2 separate regions of the Homo sapiens genome follow, and region 2 is linked to region 1. The links are contacts of gene promoters, found by promoter capture Hi-C in human tissues and cell types (Jung and others, 2019). All regions are on one chromosome and are shown on one strand. The core of a region is centred on a gene start or on the middle of the fragment in contact, and the rest is flanking DNA. Distances in the headings are between cores, read along the strand shown. Region 1 holds the start of GRIA4 (glutamate ionotropic receptor AMPA type subunit 4). Region 2 overlaps GRIA4 (glutamate ionotropic receptor AMPA type subunit 4).

Region 1 (5,814 bases), core at 1,679-4,178:
TATAAGGGCAGGGCAGCCTCAAGTGACATCACCAGATCATCTGCAGCGTCAACCAACCGACTCAAATATATATCCTCCACACCACCACTCCCCTCTTTTTCTCACTATTAGCAAGCCTTCCATAGTCTTCATGTTTCTTCTTTAAAAGCAAGACCTATGCTTACTCAAGTGAAAAGCAAATAAGAAAAACCAAAGGAAAAGAATAAAAAACTAGCTTGAGTACAATTTTCACTAAATTGACATTCGGATGATAGGAATAACACTAAAATGTTAAAGGAAAATTTAACTTGAATGATCTAGACAGATAATGAATAAAAGAGAAAGTCAGGAAGAAGCAAAGAGAGGGAGGAGAAGAAAGAAAAGAAAAATAAATTAAGGAAAAGAAAAAAAAAACAACTAAATATCCCTGAAACGAAGTCTTGTTTTTAACTCTGATTTGTCCTGAAACCAGGCAACTGTGGGAATCTTGAAATTCTTTCTAAAAAAATTAAATAACAAAGAGGAAGAGGACTCCATTGCTTGGTTTCAGTTCTCTTCTAATTTTTCATAGCTTATGTTTTACTTACAGGCGTTTGTTACAGCAAAACTGTTGGCTGTCTCAATGTTGTCCACATGAGGTACCAAATTAAAAGGAGCTTCCGACGCATTGGGGCTGGTGTTATGAAGAAAAATTGCTAATCGAAAAGCAGTGTATTCCTGATCTGTGTTTCGGATGAAGAGACCACCTATTAAAAACAGCAGGAAAAGCACATTCACTGTTTCCTCTTGTCAACATTATACCCACCCCAAGCACAGTCAAATCTACTGCCATTCACAAGCACATACAATTAAAGAGCTATACCTGCCACATCTAGGGAGACTGCCCTTTGTCCCTAAGGTGCATGCTTAGTATTTAGTCTTTAGAGCAGCTCAGCTTTTTCTTGTCCTAATGTGTCTTGCTCACAATGACCTCTGAGACCATTTAGTGAATGTTCCTTTCTCTCCCTTGCCCTCCCCCTGATTCCCAGCACACTGCTACATCAGCCACCTCAGGGCAGCTCTCTCTAAGATGCATGCAGATGAGCGGAAAAGAGATTTACATTAAAATACGGAAATGAAGGGATATAGTGCCACACAGGGAAGAGGGAAATCAGAAAGAAGAAATGAACTTTATTTTCCTCCAGCTCGTGGACTCAGCCTAATTAACTCCGTTTTATGCACAGTCCACGAGAAATGATGCAGTGTTGAGGCTGGGCTTAGCTGGAAGAAATTCAATAGCTGCGTCCCATTAAAAGACAGTAGAGGAGAATAGCAAGAAAAGCCAAGGATGGAGGGTGTCCCTGGAAACAGAGTCGAGGTAGAGAAATAAGGGCAAAAGCTTCAAGAAGAAAACAAAATAAAAGGGGAGAAGCTTCCAGGAAAGGGATCTAACTTTGGAATCTGCTAACTGGTAGCAAGAAACGGCAGGGCGTGCGGGTGGAAATGTCTTTTTCCTCAAACAGTGTCTTTCTGTAATAGCAAGAAAGCTGCGGCGTCCAGAATGGGAAGAAGTGGATTTTTTTTTTCTTTTTTAAACAAACTCGACATCACTTTATGCTTTAGAGAAAGGGATGGAAATAAATATCATATAAAATACAACCAAATTCCCCGAAGACTTTCCCCCAACTTATTTCAATCCTACTTAAGCGACTATAGGTAAAGGTGGAAATAGGGCTATGGGCTGAGAACGCATGGGTGGGCTGCCCTGGGTGTATTCCAACGGAACCTGCACTAAAGAGGAAGTCTTTTTGCAAAGGAGAGAAAGGAAGAGGAGGGAAACAGAGGGGAAGGGAACTGCTGAAGGTTTCCCTGAATTGCTTATCAGCAACTCATTTAACTCACTTTCGGATATCTGCTACAACCAGCCACATGCACACCCCATCGGAGCACACCTTACCTATTTGCACGCTGCTCGGAAAGGCTCCCATGGCGAGTCCCCAAAATCCAGAAAATAACAAGACAATCTGTCTGGAAATAATCCTCATCTTCTTTTCTCCTCTCCCTGGCGCGCGCTCTCTCTCTTTCTCTCGCACTCTTCCTAAAGGCTGTTCAGAGAAGCATTGAAGACGATGGCGCTAAAATTAAAATCAACCAAAAAAAAAAAAAAAAAAAGAAAAGAAAGAAAAGAAAGAAAAAAAAGGAAAGAGGTTTCGGTGGTTTAAGATTATGACTAGTTCTCCTTAGCAATCCATCGCGAGCCGCCAGATTTTTCCCGCAGTCTCCATAGCCCTGGGAGAGGTTTTCTGTCCGGCTGCAAATGTTGCACATGCAAAAGATGGTGGTGGAGCGTCTAGTGGCTGCTCGCAGGGATGAGACATGCGCTCTATCTTTGCCTCACTCGCACTCGCGCTCGCCCCTTGCTTTCTCACATACACACAAACACTGGCGCCGCGGCCGCCACACGCGCTCTCCAGCTCGCATCAGCCGACATCCCCCAGCAAGCCTGCACCAGCCCGGAGCATCGCTGCCCTCCTGGCGTCCCCTCCTCGAGCGCGCACTCCCTCCGCACGCCCCTCGCCCACCGCTCGGCTGGCTTCACCCCCTGGGTGCTCACCGGAGCGCCCCAGTCTCCCGGACGCTCCGGAGCCAGTCTGGTGTCAGGTTTTCCCTTCTGACCACTCGCTGACTCCCTCCTCTTTTCTTCCTCGGTTCGCAGAGGGACCGACTCTGGGGATGGGCACCCCCAGCGCCCCTCTCTTGGTTTTCCTGGCACCTCTGCTTCTCGGCTGCGCTAGGCAGAAAATCCGCCCACGGGCCAGGTCTGCAAGCCCCAATCGGGGGCTCCGGGGGGTTAGTACCTCCCCATGCCCCCAGGCCCCTGCCGCATCCTTGCAGGTTCGTGAGGAGGACGGGCTGCCTCCCTCTCCTACAGTCCTGGCTTCCCTCTCAGCCTAGCCCTCTTCTGCCACTGGGCTGCGCGCGGGGGACTCCGGTCCTCGCTGCAGCAAAGATTTCTCACCAGCAAACAGCCCGGGAATCTGGAGAGCCTGACAAGGGAATGGATGAGGTGAAAGGGTTCAGAGAGGGATGGGAGGAGAAAAGACAGGCAAAGGGCAGCCCCTGGCGGGTTTAAGAGGCCAGGACCAGGATGAAAGAATTGGAGGAGGTAAGGATGGGGAAGAGAGCCAGAGAAGTTGAAACATCCTGGGAAGGGGAGGAGGGGGTAAAAGGTTATTTTAAATAACTGACGAAGTTTAGGGTACTGAACGGGATGGGGAAAAGACTGAGAAATGAAAATTGAAAGAGGCCTCTAACATTCTCTTGGAAAGGCATGAAGCAGGGATAGGAATAAGAACTGCGTGAAGTGTAAAGTAGGAAAAGTGATTAAAGATTCGATTGCTTTCTATACAGTCACCCATTCCGGAGGACTCTTTCCTTCTGTGCTGTGGCCCATTGCAGGAGCAGGAGGGACACAGCGCAAAGGCTGATGAAGGACCAGAGGGGCAGTGCTTGGGGCAGTGGGCACAGGTGTCTGACAGGAAGATAGTGTTTCGTGCACATCTCCTCTTGTCTGGGACTCTGGAATGCTCACTCTGCTCCACGCCACCTCCAGGTAGACTTAAGCACTTCAGTGATGATGTCAATAGTTGTTTTGACTGGGTAGAAGTGAAAATGAATTATCCTAGAAAGTTTTGGGGTTACAGTCTCACTTGCTCTCCAGAGTCACCTTTAAGATTGTCCTTTCATCTGCCTGTCCTGGACTGAGCTTGAACCACACTCAGAAGCAGTCACTGTGGTAGCCGTGAGTGACCGGTTTCTGATTTCCTCTGTATGGTTTGAGATTTCCTGATCTAGTTAGTAAATACAATCTCCTGTTCCAATAAGCTGTGTGAGAGAATCATTAGAAGGAGAGGTTCTCCTTAAACGTTAGGGAACCTAGGGTGATGTCTGCCATTAAATTTTTAAAAAGAATATAGCAAATGCCTAGGTTTGCCTGATATAATATTTGAGACTACAATGCTTAAAGTGGAATTCTTGCAAGGGACTTACAGAAAGCCTGGTAACGGCTTTTTGAAATATACATTACCTTAACTCTTTCAAAATACTTTATTTGGTGTCACTGATTACCTGTATTTGTAGTTTGTAGATGACATTTTAAAATCCCTGCTAAAACTTGAGTGCTTTTCTATTTCCTAAGTTTTGAATTTTATTTTTAAAATTGCATCTTTAAAATAAGTGTCTGCTTTCCCGTTACATTTCACCACAGATTGTTATGAAAAAAAAAACCTAATTGTAACTGTATTTTACAAATCATACATTTGTCATTTTAGTTTGTGAAGTTTTAGTCTTGCAAGTCAAGTGAAATTTGAAGCATTTTTCCTTTTTTTATTTTTCTGTGTTAAAAAACAAGGCTGTGAATAATAGCATTCTGTTTTCTCTTGAAAAAGGATAATAGAGTATGACACATAAAATTCAAGTTAAATTAAAATTTCAAAATCCACCAAACTGTTAAACTCATCACTTGCTTGGGTAACTAGTGAAGCTCTTCCTGATCCAGAGGCAATTATTAACTTTAATTCTTCTCAAAATTGAAAGATTTCAGTTTTCATATGATGTAATAGCATCATTGATATAGATGCAGGACAAGTTTTTTTTCCCCACTTAACTGTCATGATAACACCTGGACTAATATAACCACAGATGACACAACTATATTTTTCCAAAATAGTAATCCAGTTGTTTTTAATTTCTATTTTCCCAAGTAGTTAAAACCTCTATTTTACTTTCTAAACCTAAACTCTCTTTATCTGTATTATATACACATATATTTATAAATGTATGTATCAAATATATTTTCTCTGTATGATACATAGAAATATCATATATACATATATTATATACGTATATACATGTATATAGATGTACATATATGTCAAATAGTTATATATTAAGCACCTATGATGTGTATTTATTCTCCAAGTGTTTGAGATATAAAGTTGAACAAAACAAAATCCCTGATATTCTTAGAAGACTCTTAATGTTTATGAATGCTCACTAATGTGCAAGGTATTGTGCTGAAGCCATACATATATTACCTGATCTACAGAAAATTTTAGGTATCCTTGCATTTGTTAGGTAACCCAACTAAAGATTTAGATTCTTTCTCAAGATTATATTCTTGGTAAGTGATGAAACCATAACTAAGGATGGGACTCAAGTTGTCTGATTTCAGAGACTGGGCTGTCTTTATTAAAACCTGCTGTGTTAATGAGTTTAAGGAGTGACGAGGGGTCTGGGAGCTGAAAAGTAAACTACAAGAATCCTAGCATTCAGAAAGGTAGTGTGTTCTACCTGAAAGACCTCAGGCTTTCAGACTAATAATTAGTAACTGGTTTCAGATTACAGGCCCTCAATTTCTTAGCTGTATTGACTTGGATATATTACCTAACATTTCTTTTCTGACAGGATATAAGTAAACTTTCAACACAGTTCTGGCACATAACTGGCAACTCTTGTCAATAATGAGTTGCCCCCCAAAATGTGATAAAGGCTCTTATAGAGTGAGGTGCAGAGTGCCATGTGAGCAAAATAGAGTGTCTAACTCTGACTTTGAGGGAATTCAGGGAGAACTCACAGAGAGAAAAATAAAATTGAACTGAGTTGCTATGTGTTTGTAGGGATTATCAAGTGGAGAAAAATTATGTCTTTCTAGACACTGCTAAAAGCTTGGTAAAACTAGACTTCAGGTTATATGAGGGGAAGTAGTGGAAGTGCGGCTGGAAAGCAAAGCAAGAGATGGCTCGGCACCATCTCACTCAGAAGCATTGTCTTCGTCTCATAGAGACAGAGAAACAA
Region 2 (6,098 bases), core at 1,279-3,778, 51 kb before region 1:
ATGTTATTATTATATAAATGGACTATTGACTTCAGTGTCATCTTCGAAATGGACCCTACTTTCCAGCCATATAAAGTTTTGAAAGTTTCCCTATATTTGAGTCATTTTAAAACGTTTATTTCTCTATGTTCTTCTAAGTGCTGCTCCTTAATGCTGGAATACCTTTCTCCCTGGTGTCATCCACATCATCATCTAGTTCCTCTAAGAAATGGAATTTCAAATGTTAGATTTCTTTTGCAAAGCCTTTCCCTATTCCCTTATTAAAGCTAGTCCTGTCATTGTCTCTATTTAAGTATCATGCTGGAAATACTTCTATTGCAGCACTTGTCACTTTAAAATATATTCACGTTTTGATTTTCCCCGTGAGACTATGAGTTCCTTGAGAGTAATGACTGTGCCTTACTTATCTGTAGAGCTCAGTACCTGGAATATAGTAGATGTGCAATAAATGTCTGTTGAAGAAATAGATGAATTTAGAGAATCCCAGTTATTGATAACTAAAATGAGAACTAGTTGTTGAACTAACGTACTATTGTGAGCTTTATAATTAATTTTCTTAATTTTTAAATTAGGAATGTTATGAACCTTGAATATATAATCTAAATTAAAAATGGCTTGAGTAAATCAATGAACTTGGTAATAAAGTTATATAAATCAATGAACTTGATATAAAGTTATATTTTTTAAGACAGTTGTCCTTTTTAAAACATTTTATTTTCAGAGGCATGAGTTTATAGTTATTATAAACTCAATTATAAAGATAGGCTACAAGGATATTTTAGATTATCTGTCGTGATTATTTTTTGGCAAGACTGTTCCCATTCACTGGTTTTGAGATACTCTTATTTTATGTATTTACTCTCTGTGTCATGGCTGTAATTTGGTGTCAGAGATAGTGTGAGTGTCGCTACAATGATGTCTACATATGGAGTTTAAAGAACACAGAGGGCCCTTCTGTTGCTCTCAGTAACTCTGAGAAAACCTCAGTCTCAGCCTGGGAACTTACTGTCTCTGCTTTTTAACCACTGGCTTTTTTTGAAATGTGTAGCTTTCTGCCACATCATTTATTTTAATCAATAGATCTTTCTGCAATGGATGCCCCCTTTGTGATCGAACACTTGCTTTGTTACATATTATTTTCCATCTGTCTCAAAGTTTCACTTCAGAATGAGTAAAGAATGAGTAAAGAAGTAAAACCATTTTTCTCTCTAAAATTTCAATAGTTATATATTGCTGTTGCTTGCACACTATGGATTCTTCTTACTGATTTGACAGATTCCTTTTTCGTCTCTAACTTGAACTCTCCACTTTGGTCTGCTGACATTCTCGCTTCCCACCCTATCCTTCTCCCCACCAAAGACTAACAGTGTTTTTTCCTCTGTATCTGTTTCCATGCCTTTCTGCCTCATGGAATGCAGTTCTCCTTTCCTTTCTATCTGATCTTGGTTATTTTTTATCAGTGGAAAAGCTTATAGTTTAGAAACAGGCAGACCTAGGTTTAACTTCCAGTTTTGCCAGTTAGAGATACATGCACTCAGACAAGCTAATCAACTGATCAAACTCAGTTTTCTCACCTGTAAAATGAATATTTTTAGAAGGGTTAAATACAATAACATATTCAATTGCCAAATTTTTAATCTAGTTTAGTCAATAAGTGCATCAACAATGATTACGTTATGACTCAAATAAAATGTCATCTGCTTTGTTAGTTCTTGCCTGCTTTGCCACATTGCATTCATTTACTGTGCCAACTTCTGTTGAGTTTATATTCTTAAACATTCATTTGATGTGCACACACACACACACACAAACACACACACACACAGTTTTCTTCATTGAAGGTCTTATTAATCCAACTTTGCAGTTCATTAGTGGTTGTGTGGAAAAAATATAGTCATTTTAAATTTCCTTTCCTCATAGAAATATATAAGCGTGATTAAGAAAAAACAAAAAATATGTAGAAAGTTCTATAATGACAAGGAAAATCTCTTGCCTATCTTTCTCTAGTCCTGTTCCCTAGGGACAAGTGGGCTCAAAAAATATTTGTGTAAACCTCATATTCCATCGTCCAAATTTGACAAATACCAAGAATTTACCATGCTGCTTATCTATTCCTCTTCTTTTTCTCTCTGTTTCAGTTGGACTATTTAAAAACAAAGTCGAGATGTAATTTTTTTCATCAATTTATACGTCAACATGTATAAAAAATTAACCATGAATTTCTTTAAAGGTATGAACATTTTCTTATGTAATATGATGCCTTTTTCTTATCTAACAAAATGCATTTCTTGATTTCATCTAATATCCAGCCCATCTTCACATTTTTCTACTTATCTCAAAATGAATTTTTCCCCAAAACTCTGAATCAAAATCCAAATAAGGGCTACATAATATTATGTATTATGTTTATTTGTTTTGTGTCTTCAGTATCAATCTAGAGCAATTTCTAGGGGGTAGTGACTGTACCTCATTAAACAAACCAATACTCATTTTATGTTATTATATCTCTATATAATACTCCTATACTTCTCTTTCTATGTATATCAATTGAAGGCATAACTTATTACTGTAATAGATATAAATACAACTCTTGTCTACCCATGCTTTTCTCTCCAGACCCTGCTAACATAGTATTTCATCTTTCTAAGGTATCTATTGATAATCTATGTATCATTAAGTAATATATTTAATTCCTTATTATGTCACACTAGAAAATATCTCATCTTCCACTTTGAAAATTGGTGTTAGGGCTTCTAGCGTTTGCTTCAGTGTTTTTCACACCCACCTTTCTAATTCTGAAATTTGAATTTTTTCTTCTATACAGTCAAGGTTAAGAACACATACTTTCTCTTCAGAAATTGTAGCTAGGTCTTCTTTACCTTCTCTATAAACTTATCTACAGGTTGATCCTAAACTTTGAAAATAAGTAAGTCATGTTTACGTTATTATGATAATGAAACCTCTCTCACTTCAGTAACAAATAGTATCAAATGACTGCAATTGTATCTATATATGGAGATATAGATATATAGATATGTCTTGGAGTTTTTCATGGACATTCTTTTTCTTTCAACTTTTTGCCTGCATAATAGTCGATTCCCCCCATCCCTATCTGTTTAATATTACATTATGTGTTAAGAACTGTTTTTTTTCTGTCTCTTTCAGAAAACCCAGTCCTACAATATAGACTCTTAATTCTCTAGAGAAATTATCATGAGACTTCATCTTATTGTTCTCCTTGTTTCCTGAACCCCATACCTTCATTTTTAAAAATAAATTTTCCAAGAACAATATCTGTAACATAAATTTTCTGTGTTCAAGCATATCTGAAAATATATTCATTCTACTCTCAAATTTGATTGATAGTTTTACTGTTTACAGTATTCTAAGCCCAAAAAAATCTAGGGTAAAAATGTCCCTAGATCTGTAATGTCATTCTTAGTCTGATATTGGACATTCAATACTTTTTATGAGAATTCTGCTGCTATTCTTAATCTCATTCTTTGTAGATAACTAGTTTTTCCTTTTTAGCACCTGCTCTTTATCCTTTGGGTTCTAATTGATTTCTAATTTTATTATCAGTGTTTTGGACACCTAGTGGATATTTCCATCTGGAATTTCAAATTCTTGAGATCTAGGGAATTATCTTTATGTGCTTATATTTTCAAATTAAATTTCTCTTCATTTTTTCCTTCCCCTAGAAATATTATTAACCAAACGTTAGAACTCCTGAATTGATTCTCTCTGACTCCTCTTTTGTTTAACGGTTTTTCTTTTGTATGCAGTTCTACTTTTGGAAGCTTTCTTTGACTTTGAATTTTAATATTTTTATTATTTTGAAAATTTTACCATTGTTTTTAATTTCAGTAGTATCTTACATTATTCACATTATCATGACCTTGTTTGATATCACATTGAATTTTTCTGAGAATATTAGTTAGAAATTTTTGTTTTAAGTGCATCTTCTATTCATCTCTCTCTTTCCTCTGTGGTAATTTTTGTGATGTTCTTTCAGTCCTATGATACAGGCTTTCCTGAAAAGTCTGGTGTCTACTGCCATTTGTTTATATTTTAGAATTAGGAAATAAAAAATTGACTAGAACTCAGTGGAAATAGAAGGAGCTTGTCAATTAACAAGCTTTAGTTTAAGCTGTATGTCAGGAGCTTTTGGGTGCAAGTAAAAGAACATTCACTTAAAGTGGCTTACACAGTATGGACCATCTATAAACATAGAGGTATGTTGTTCTAGGGTTAATTTATGAGTTTAGTGATGCTACTTAGGGCACAGACTCATTTTTGTCCTTCTTCTTTGCCATCCTTGATAAATTCACTTCAGCATTAAGCTGGTTCCCTAATCACAAATAACTGTGGCAATTCCAGGTATTCTGGGTAGATATAATAAATGCAATGAAGGAAAATAATGTTTTCTTCAGAGACACTTTACAACAGTGAGATAAACCTTTCCTAGAAGTCTCTTAATATCTCTCCACCTCCACTTGTTCAGAATTGAGCCAAATCGCATGCCTAAGATGTAAGAGAGTCTTCATAAGTAAGTACTTGGCATTGTAGCTTCTTGTGACAGCCATGCTCTGCCAATAAGAACAAGTTTACCTGGAAGATGACATAGGTGAAATTTGGGTGACAATCCCCGCAGCTACCACATGGATGATGGGTGAGGAAGCAACTAATGCACTGGAACCCTCAGGTATTTCTGTTTCATGAGTTTCCTTGGACTTTGGCCAAGTTCATTGACTCCTTTTTAGCTTTGTTTCTGTGAACATGCTAGAATATTCTGACAAATTTATCCCATTATTGTCATCAATGTAGATTTATGTCTGTTTACTAGTTGAATATCATTTTATTGGGGTTTTAGGAAGGAGAAGAGATTAACCTATGGATTCAGTCTGTCTGTCATCTTGACTTGGAAATGTAGAGTTTAATTTCAACAGGAGTTCTAATCGCCTACCTATCCTTTCCATTCACATGTAAGAAAAAAATTATTAGTTCATTATATTTTGTTACTTTCTCACAAATAACATCTCTTAGAAATTTCCTCAAAAAATTCAACAAAGACCTAAGGAGGTCTTTGCTCCTTTCAGAGCCGAGTCTTATATCCCTATACATTTCTTCTTGTAAAGATAATGTCAACTATCACTCCCAAAATAATTTCTCTCACTTGCCACTTTGTTTATGAGTATTTTTCCATCTTTGTTTATGAGTATTTTATGAGTATATTTCTTTCTGTATGATATTACTTATATTTGGATTCATGTCCCCACAGAAATCACCTCCATTAATCCCATGTCTACTTCTTTTTATCTAGAATAGTGACTTTTTCTTTAGTTTTCCTATACACATTCCAGATTCTTTTATGATGCAATATATTATTTTATAAATTCCAGGCCATTTGAAATACTCTGTTTAAAGATCAGTTCCTGTTATTCTGAAATTCATGTTTACAATGTAAATTAGAGGTTTAAAAAGAAGAAAGCTGTTCAGGATGAAAAACAAAAATTCATCTTATCTTTATTCTATAAACTCATGGCAAGCAGCAAACTCATCTAAATGCATATTTCATATTTGAATACTAGAAATATATGTATTTTATTAATTTCTATACCTATTTCAATAATAGTACTGATAATTGGAATGAGGAAAGACCAGACACTGAAACATCTTTTAAGGTGAGACAATATGACACTAATGTTAATATTTCTTAAACTTTAAAAAAATTCTACTATACTTAAGAAATATGCTGTTAACACTTTCTCTGAAAAGATATTCAAAAATGAGAATTTTTCCTGATAAAAATACTTGTACACACAGATAAGTAACTTAAAAGGTATAATAAAATATAAAATTTTAAAATACACTTTATATTTTAGGACATTTTTAAGTTCACAGCAAAATTGAGAAAAAAATAGAGTTTCCATATACCTCCTTTAAAGAAAAAAATACATTCCATCTGTACTAATATTTGAATCTTATTTTTTCTTTTTATATTACATGAGTTCCTCTAATTCCATACAGACTACAAAGTACATTGTACTATCATGATCAAATAAAAATCAGAAACATTTCTGGGTGCCATCAGTAGG

Evidence for each region. The method cuts DNA at HindIII sites, captures the fragments that hold promoters and counts their contacts. A contact is called where the count stands out against the background at its distance.
Region 2: a fragment that was not itself captured here is called in contact with the fragment with the promoter of GRIA4 in region 1 in 5 of the 25 tissues and cell types used here (adrenal gland, aorta, hippocampus and 2 more).

What each region holds. Positions count from the first base shown.
Region 1 is chr11:105,607,187-105,613,000 of GRCh38, reverse strand. GRIA4 (glutamate ionotropic receptor AMPA type subunit 4) reads right to left here and starts at 2,928. Exons shown (of 17, transcript NM_000829.4): 1 at 2,573-2,928; 2 at 1,916-2,093; 3 at 567-725. The coding sequence starts at 2,003. RefSeq lists a silencer at 1,752-1,952. The HindIII fragment of the contact is 8,669 bases long and covers 1-5,814 here.
Region 2 is chr11:105,657,719-105,663,816 of GRCh38, reverse strand. All of the region lies in intron 3 of GRIA4 (glutamate ionotropic receptor AMPA type subunit 4), which reads right to left. Among named protein-coding and RNA genes, the nearest start is that of GRIA4, 51 kb to the right of the region's middle. The HindIII fragment of the contact is 5,638 bases long and covers 1-5,347 here.